Linked DNA regions of Homo sapiens: region 2 is linked to region 1. Evidence: promoter capture Hi-C in human tissues and cell types (Jung and others, 2019). All regions are on one chromosome and are shown on one strand. Each heading gives the region's core, a stretch centred on a gene start or on the middle of the fragment in contact. The rest is flanking DNA. Distances are from core to core; before and after follow the strand shown.

Region 1 (4,576 bases), core at 1,017-3,516:
GGCTAGAGCGCAATGGCGCGATATCGGCTCACTGTAACCTCCGCCTCCCAGGTTCAAGCAATTCTCTTGTCTCAGCCTCCCATGTAGCTGGGATTACAGACACCTGCCACCACGCTTGGCTAATTTTTGTACTTTTAGTAGAGACAGTTTCACCATATTGGCCAGGCTGGTCTCAAACTCCTGACCTTAGGCAATCCACCCATCTTGGCCTCCCAAAGTGCTGGGATTACAGGCTTGAGCCACTGCGCCCAGCCTAACAGAAGTTCTTGGGGCTGCCTAAGTCAGAGTGTCAGGTTTCTGTTGGGCTGCAGGAACCCATTCAGGGCTGGCTAGAGCTTGTGCCTGATTATTCTGGAATCTGAATGCATCCTAGTAAAATGGTATTTGGAAGAGAGTAGAATTGGTATAGGTCTCCAAAACTCCAACCTACACATCTGCCTGCAGGTGTGTATTCAGATTCCCTTAATCTCCTATATTTCCATCCTTCTTCATCCTTCATCAAAGCTGACCTTTTCTTATTTGGGGAACCACTTTCATGCTGAAGCCCTAAAGCATACGCTGAGTCTGACCCTTGGAACATCAAAATCAAGTCTCAGATTTTTCTAGCCTGCAGGTGAGCAGTTCAGAAGCTTATTTCCAAACACAAACGCTTTAGATAGTTGGAAAAGAGGAACTGAAAATAATGGTCTTCCATACCCTATGACAACATTTTAGAGCTAGAAGGGTTTTTTTTTAATAGTAATGTTCTCAGTCCCCTAGTTTACAGATGGAGACTCAGGAGAGAGGGCTAGAAATTTCTTGCTACTAAACAGTGTGGCCCAATGGATTGGTGCACCCTGGCATAAGGAATATGTTTACTGCACCATAGCCTCATTGAAGGTCCCCGCCCCGGCCTTTTTTTTTTGAAGCATTCACCTAGGGAGACATAGGTAGGATGCATGTCTACACGTAGGAAATGTGCAGACTAGATAGCAAGCTCCATGGGGCAGGAACCATGAAGGGCCTTGTACCTGAGCATACCCCCAGTGCCTGATGCAGGGCCTAGTGCACACTCAAATGTTGGTTGACTGGCCGGGTGCGATGGCTCATGCCTATAATCGTAGCACTTTGGGAGGCCAAGGCGGGCAGATCGCTTGAGGTCAGGAGTTCGAGACCAGCCTGGCCAACGTGACAAAACCCCCGTCTTTACTAAAAATACAAAAAAATTTAGCTGGGCCTGGTGGCACACACCTGTAATCCCAGTTACTCGGGAGGCTGAGGCACAAGAATTGCTTGAACCCGGGAAGCAGAGGCTGCAGTGAGCTGAGATTGCACCACTGCACTAGCGCCTGAGCCACAGAGTGAGACCCTGTCTAAAAAAAAAAAAAAGTTGGCAGACTGAATGCTGGAAAGAAGAAGGACCTGGCTTTGTCCCCACACCAATCTGGTGGGCGAGTACAGAATGTAAACTGTCTGGAGGTTGGCATTGGCCTAGCTTCTCCGTTGCTCTCTTGTTCTCTAGAATCCAATCAAGCACCTGTGGCCAGAGAGCTGTGTGAAATGGAAACCAGTCCCACCAGCCCCTGATTGCACCCCCGCAATGTCTTCTCGCCCTGTTTAATGTCATGTCCAAACTCCTGGCCGCCGTGGCCTGTCTCCACCTCTCCAGCTTCCTCGCTTGGCCTGTCTCCTTAGCTCTCTCTGTCTCACCCACACTGGCCTGCAACTCGCCAGAGTGCCCCAGGCTTTTCAGCTTTTGCACGGGCCCTTCCCTCTCCAGGCTCTCTCCCCTGGATCTTTGCTTCAGCTGCTCCTTCTTGACATCCAGGTCTCAGACCAATGGCCCCTTACTCAGAAGGCCTAGCGCAGGCCGCCTAATTTCACACAGTTCTCCCCCTTCCCGCACTGCCTTCCATCACCTCGTTTCATTTTCTTCGTGGCACGGAGCACCATCTCCAATGGCCTTGTTCATTTAGTTAATTTATTTTCCGACTTAGTTCCAGGTGCTAAAACAGTGTTACCTTGGCAGGCTTCCCATCAAATATTGTTGCGCAAAGGATGGATGGATGAAAGGAAGAGTGAGCCAATAAACGAGGGAACGCCGGGAAAGGCAGCCTCAAGCCGGTGGGCCCTGCCACCCCCACCGTCCCTGAGCATCCGAGCCGGTTCCCGCCCCCGGCCCGAACTGGCCCGCGCGCGCTCGCAGCCCCGCGGCGGAACCCGAGGGCGGCGGCAGCGGTTTCCCTTGAACGAGCCGGGGAATCTGGAGGGAGCACACAGGAAAGGCAGAGCCGCGAGCTGGACCAGCCGTGGTGAGTGCAGCGGCGCCCAGGCGGGGAGCGCAGTGCGGGTCGCTGGGACTGAGCGCGCGAGCGGGGTGGGAGTCGGGATGGGGGCCCGGGGCGCTGGGCGGAGCCTCTGGAGTCGCGCTGGGCCGAGAGCCGCGGGGACCCAAGCATCAGGGGTCGTGGGTGCAGGCGGCGGCGCGGCTTGAGGGTAGGGGGTGCGGGCCTGGCCGGCGCGGCAGGGGAGGGCCTCGCGCGGATCCCGTGGTCACGGCGGGAGTCAGCTGTCCTGGGTTCGAGTCCCAGAGCTGTCGCTAACTTGTGGACCCCCCTCACTTCGTCCCTTGGGCTTCAGCATAGCCCTTTGCAAAATGGGGCCAATAGTATCAGATCCATTGATGGGTTGGTTGGTTCATTCATTCTGGCGCTTTACTAGGTTCTGGTGCTGCAGATGGATAGACGAACTTGCCCATGAGGGGTTCACTATCTAGTAAGAAAAACATTTCCACCTGGATACTCCACAGGCGTGTCAAATTCAGTATCTCCTAAACCGCACTACTTTTCTCCACAAACCTACCACTCAAATCTAAATGACTGAAATCACTATTCAACCAGTCACCCAAGCACAAAAACCTGGCTTGGTTCCTCCTCTCTCACTTACTACAGTCAATGGACCACCAACTGCTGCCAATTTCTACTTTCTAAAGCTTTCCAAATCCATCCTTTATCTTGGTTTGTTCTTTTAGGAGCCTACAGATTATGGCAATAACTTCCTAATGGTTCTCTTTAGCTTTAATTTTAGCTTCTTCCAGTTCATTTTTCATTCTGCTATAAAGTGGTCTTTTAACAGTTCAAATATGATTATATCACTCACCTGCTTAAAGCCCATTAAAGGTTTTTCATTGTCTTCAAAATAATAGCCAAAGTCCTTAGTGTGGGTTCAAGGTCTTTTCTAATCCCACCTGGTCTTCAATCCTTTATCTCTAAACCACTGTTTCTCAAAGTCTGGTATAGTGGTGACCTCCATTGCAACCAACATGGGAGTACTTGTTAACAAGTGAAGATGACAGCTTAATTCCAGAACAAATGAGACTCTTGCGGGAAGGGGCAGTTCCCAGGATTCTGTGTTTTTAACAAGTTCTGCACTAAAGGTTGAGAACCCCTGTTCTAGACACTCCAATTTTTACTCCGCTGTTGATGAGATTCAGGACACACTGCCGCAAAATATGACTCGTTGGCATTAGAGGAAACAACTGAAGCAGGAAAGTCACTTTGTGTCTTCCCACTTTTCTCCCCTGAAGCAGGCCATAAAAGAATTGTTTGACCTTCTTCTGTATAAGACCCTTCAGTGAGAGGTGCTCATCCTGTAAGTATAGGATCGAGGAAAGGAATGCCCTTATCTTTGAAGACACAGGTACACAGAGAAGAATCAGAACAAATAGGCCTTGCTAAATTCTCCCCAGCGTATTACTGTTAGATCATACCCCCTTTTTCCAGTCTCAGCCATGAACCTAATTCTCCCCTCAACTATCTACGTATGTTTCTCTCAACACACTTTACTGTCTTTTATGCCTTTGTACACTCTCAGTTTGGGCTACTGTAAAAAAAAAATAGCAAAAACTGGGTGGCTTAAACAACAGAAATTTAATTCTCACAGTTCCGGAGGCTGGAAGTCCAAAGTTAAGGTGCCAGCATGGTTGAGTGCATGGTGATAGCTCTCTTCCTCGGTTTGTAGAGATCTGTCTTCTTGCTGTATCCTCACAATGCAGAGAGACCATCTCTGTAGTGTCTAGTCTCATAAGGACACTAATCCCTTTCATGGGAGCCACTCTTATGACCCAATTATCTCCCGAAGGCTCTATCTCCTAATACCATCTCAATGGGGATAGGGCTTCCACATCACCATTTTTGGGGAACACAGCATTCAGACAATAGCATCCACAAAACTCCTTCGTTACTTTAGTGATTTCCTCCTCATTATTCAAGGCTCAGGGAAGACTTCATTGACTGTGCACCACCCCCTCAGCCCTAGACCAGGTTAGGTTCATTCTTGCAGACTCTCACAAAGCCTTGTGCTGACTCCTCGACATTTATCCCACTGTACTGCAATCATAATTGTATAATTGTGTTAGCATTGTGGGTTTGACAGTTGTGAGCACTTGAGAGAACGCATGAGACCCATTCTTCTCTGCCCTCACCCCCAGCACAGAGCCTACCATATAGGTGTTTATTAAAGGGCTCTTGAATGAAGGAGTGATTTAGGGCCAGATGGAGAGGAGTTCAAGAATTAGTTGGGCCTTTGGAATCATGTG
Region 2 (4,576 bases), core at 788-3,287, 560 kb before region 1:
CAAAAAATGTAGGTCTCGTGACACTAGGAAAGAAAGTCATGTTTTTACCCCTGCTGGTCTCCCACCACAAGCTACGGGCAAAGAAGGGAAGAGATCCAAAGCAGAGAAAACACAAAATAGACAAACCTCAATTTTTACATCATAGGGGTATTTTTAAAAGGCTGTGTATAATCAAATTTGTGTCAGTTAATCTTTACTTTCCCTTAAGTCTAACTCAATGTATCCACTTTTGATTTTTAATGTGGTAATGACTTTGTCATCTTTTTTTTCTCTTCTACTTATGCCATACTTATGGCATACTTATGCCAGCCTCTCCATCCAGAATTGAACTGCCTGTGAACCAGCTACAGAGAGCACCCAGGGCCATTTGCCTCACAGCAGCAGAGCTGCTTGTTTACCGAGAGCTCCAGCCCCTTGTTGGCAAAGGTGGACCTCTTATCTCTCAGGGATCACTCTGCCTCTGGGTTCCTGTATCCCTGTGTGGGATTTACACACTGCCCGAGGGCCTGGCTCTTCCTGGGTTCTGCTCCACTGTTGCCCAGCTGACCTGTCAAGTTGTGGTTGGAGACCCAGAGTGACCCAGCCCCTACATCGCCCATCAGACTTGTTGCCCTGGTCTGGCTGGCCATTTATCTGGCTCTGGGATTAACTCTAAAATCCTGAGGGCACCAGCCTTCTAGGAGTCTGATATGGGCCATTTTCCCTGGAAATATAAATGAAACTGACTGGCGTGGGAGCACTTATAGCTCTTGCTGGTCCTCCTGGTCCTGGGTCCAACCTAAAAGGATCTTTTTCACCATTCCCACTGTCCCTGATCAAATCAATCTCTCCTTATTTGTCATATGGACCACCCTGGTGCTCTCCTGACTTACCTCCTTCCACCTTTTTTAGTCTATTTTAGTCCACCGTCCGTTTGGCTGCCCGAGGAAACTCTCTAAACTATGGATCTGACATCATTACCCTGCCATGTCCCTTTAATAGTTCCCCATTATCTGAGGGTAAAGCCAAAATTCACAATGGCCCACAAGGCCCTATCTCACCAGCCTGATCTCTCTCTCTTTCTCTCTCTCTCTCTCAAATCTTCCCCAAAATGCCACTTATGCTCTAGCTATAGCGAACATCTTATTCTTTCTTTCTTTTTTTTTGAGACTGAGTCTCACTCTGTCGCCCAGGCTGGAGTGCAGTGGCACGGTCTCAGCTCACTGCAAGCTCCGCCTCCCTGGTTCACGCCATTCTCCTGCCTCAGCCTCCTGAGTAGCTGGGACTACAGGGGCCTGCCACCACGCCTGGCTAATTTTTTTGTATTTTTAGTAAAGACGGGGTTTCATCGTGTTAGCCAGGATGGTTTCGATCTCCTGACCTCGTGATCTGCCCGCCTTGGCCTCCCAAAGTGCTGGGATTACAGGCATGAGCCACTGTGCCCAGCCTTACTCTTTTTAAGTCTATGCCATCTTCCAATGCCACATTTGTGTCCTCATGTTATGTCCTCACCCTGGAATGTTCTCTCTTCCCATTTTTGTCCCTCTTGCTTTTTCTTCAACTTTTTTTTTTTTTTTGAGTCAAGGTCTTGCTCGATCACCCAGGCTGGAGTGCAGCCTCGACCTCCCAGGCTCAAGTGATCTCCCACCTCAGCCTCTTGAATAGCTGAAATCACAGGTACGTACCACTATGCCTGGCTAATTTGTTTATTTTGTAATGATAGGGTCTCCCTATGTTGCCCAGGCTGGTCTCAAACTCCTGGACTCAAGAGATTCTCTTGCCTTGGCCTCACAAAGTGCTGGGATTACAGGTGTGAGCCACCATGCATGGCCTTGTCTTTTTTCTTGAATAAGAATCTCACCTTGTCCCCCAGGCTGGAGTGCAGTGGTGTGATATTGGCCCATTGCAGCTTCGACCTCCCAGGTTTAAGCAATCCTCCTGCCTCAGCCCCAACAAGTAGTTGAAACTACAGGCATGCACCACCACACCCAGGTAATGTTTGTATTTTTTTTCTAGAGACGGGGTTTCACCATATTGCCCAGGCTGGTCTCAAACTCCTGAGCTCAAGCAATCCACCTGCCTTGGCCTCCCAAAGTGCTAGGATTACAGGCATAATCCACCATGCCCCGCCCTCCTTTAGCTCTTTTAACGTTTTTTGGTTTTTTTTTTTGCATATTATTATGAAATGGTAAGCATTCGTGACGGAAAATTCAGAAAGTGTAGAAAAGAAAACCAACCATAGTCTCATCTCTCATAAGCAACAAATGTTAATATTTGGGCATAGTTCCTCCAGTCTTTTTGTTCATTTGCATTTTTCTTTTGATAACTGACAGCATTCTATACATGAACTCGTATATTCATTTTTAAAAAATTTTTTGAGACAGGATCTCTGTTGCCCAGCCTAGAGTACGGTGGCCCAAACACAGTTCACTGCAGCCTCAACCTCCCAGGCTCAAGCGATCCTCCCACGTCAGTCTCCTGAGTAGCTGGAATCACAGGCACACACTAACATGCCCAGCTAATTTTTAATTTTCTTGTGGAGACGGGGTCTCACTTTGTTTCCCAGGCTGGTCTCCAATTCATGGGCTCAAGTGATCCTCCCACAGTGCTCCCAAAGTGCTGGGATAACAGGCGTGAGTCACTGTGTTTGGCCTATGTTGTCTTAAAATAGTCTTAAATACCAACATGGGCAATATAATGAGACCCTGGCTCCACAAAAAGTAAAAGAATTAGCTGGGTGTGGTGGCATGCACCTGTAGTGCCAGGTATTTGAGAGGCTGAGGTGGGAGGATTGCTTGAGCCCAGGAGGTTGAGGCTGCCATTGAGCCATGATTGCACCACTGACCTCCGGACTGGGTGATAGAACAAGACCCTGTGTCAATTTTTTTTTCCTGAAACATATTTAAAAAAAACAAACTTTTTTTTTTTTTTTGAGATGGAGTCTCGCTTTATTGCCCAGGCTGGAGTGCAATGGTGTGTTCTCAGCTCACTGAAACCTCTGCCTCCTGGGTTCAAGCGATTCTCTTGCCTCAGCCTCCCAAGTAGCTGGGACTACAGGTGTGCACCACGTTCAGCTAATTTTTGTATTTTTAGTAGAGACAGGGTCTCACCATGTTGGCCAGGCTGGTCTCGAACTCCTGGCCTCAGGTGATCCACCTGCCTCGGCCTCCCAAAGTGCTGGGATTACAGGCATGAACCACTGTGCCCAGCCAAAAAAGCTTTTTGAAAGTACAATTCAAAAAATTTTAAATAAAATTTTAGACTTACCAAAAAGTTGCAAAAATATACAGAGAATTCCTGTATATTCTTCACCCAACTTCCCTTAATGTTAACATCTTATAACCAGAGTATAATTATCAAAACTAAGAAATTTTTTTCCACCGTAAAGTTACTACTTTTCTCTTTGTAAATAATATTTTTTGTGGGGGGGATACTTTGAGAGCATACAAATATCCTGCTTCTCCTTAAACTTTTGCCCATCAGTTTTAGCATCCATCAGTGGATACTGCTTGCAGTTATTATTACTGCGATATTCTAACCGAGATTTTCTATTTCCTTATTCCTTACATTTTACAATTGGAATTCTTCTGTAAAGTAAAGTACCTTCTCCTCAATTTATTTATACTGTATGGACTCAAAGATTTTTATTTAACCATTGGGTTTTAATCTAGTACTATCATAATATAGTACTATGCTTAATCCAGTAGTATTCTTATTTATTTTGTTGCTCAAATTGTTTCAGCCTTGGCCATAGGGGGCTCTTTCAGTTTGGCTCTCGTGCCCTTTCGACAAGATCCCCATCCTTTTTTTTATGGGGGGGCACTTCATCACTTTTTAGCATAATTTGTGTCTTAACCTCTCCCAACTCTGGAATCCACTATTTTTCCAAGGAACCACAATTTCTTTTGTTGGAGAATAGTATTTAGAAAACAAGGTCAGCCAGGCGTGGTGGCTCACGCCTGTAATCCCAACACTTTGGGAGGCCGAGGAGGGCAGATCACGAGGTCAGAAGATCGAGACCATCCTGGCTAACATGGTGAAACCCCCGTCTCTACTAAAAATACAAAAAAAAAAAAAAAAAAAAATTAGCTGGGCGTGGTGGCAGGCACCTGTAGTCCCAGCTACTTGGGAGGCTGAGGCAGGAGAACGGTGTGGGCCCAGGAGGCGGAGCTTGCAGTGAGCCGAGATCGTGCCACTGCACTCCAGCCTGAGTGACAGAGCAAGACTCAATCCCCAGAAAAAAAAAAAAAAAAAGAAAACAAGGTCTACGACTTGCATTTTGGAGTCAAAAAACATGGATATTACTAACAGCTAAGTATACATGCTGCCAGATTTTTTTTCAGTAAGTTTAAACTAAACACACTGCCACCAATTTTTCCAGTTCTACTAAATCATATTGTCAATTCAAATGGATTATCATTCATCTATCTTTCTCTTTATTCTTCCCTCCATCCTTCTGTCTCTCCTACTCTCTTTCCTTTTATTCTTACTTTCTCTTTTAATATAATGAGAAAAATGTACCTCATTTATTCTTCAATCCAGGTGAGTTTGGATATTTCTTTCATTCATTCAACAAAAATTTAGTGATGCCAACTGA

The links. Contacts are between HindIII fragments. The study calls those that stand out against the background at their distance.
Region 2: a contact is called between a fragment that was not itself captured here and the fragment with the promoter of AGK in region 1, in 1 of the 25 tissues and cell types used here (dorsolateral prefrontal cortex).

The regions. Positions count from the first base shown.
Region 1 is chr7:141,549,144-141,553,719 of GRCh38, forward strand. AGK (acylglycerol kinase) reads left to right here and starts at 2,267. Exons shown (of 16, transcript NM_018238.4): 1 at 2,267-2,291. AGK-DT (AGK divergent transcript) reads right to left here and starts at 2,201. Exons shown (of 6, transcript NR_183408.1): 1 at 2,001-2,201. RefSeq lists silencers at 2,062-2,151, 2,332-2,511. The HindIII fragment of the contact is 6,047 bases long and covers 1-4,576 here.
Region 2 is chr7:140,992,169-140,996,744 of GRCh38, forward strand. LOC105375536 (a long non-coding RNA gene) reads left to right here. Exons shown (of 5, transcript XR_002956518.2): 5 at 1,565-1,603. It overlaps LOC107986720 (a long non-coding RNA gene), which reads right to left. Exons shown (of 3, transcript XR_001744994.2): 1 at 4,501-4,576. Among named protein-coding and RNA genes, the nearest start is that of MRPS33, 20 kb to the right of the region's middle. The HindIII fragment of the contact is 6,404 bases long and covers 1-4,576 here.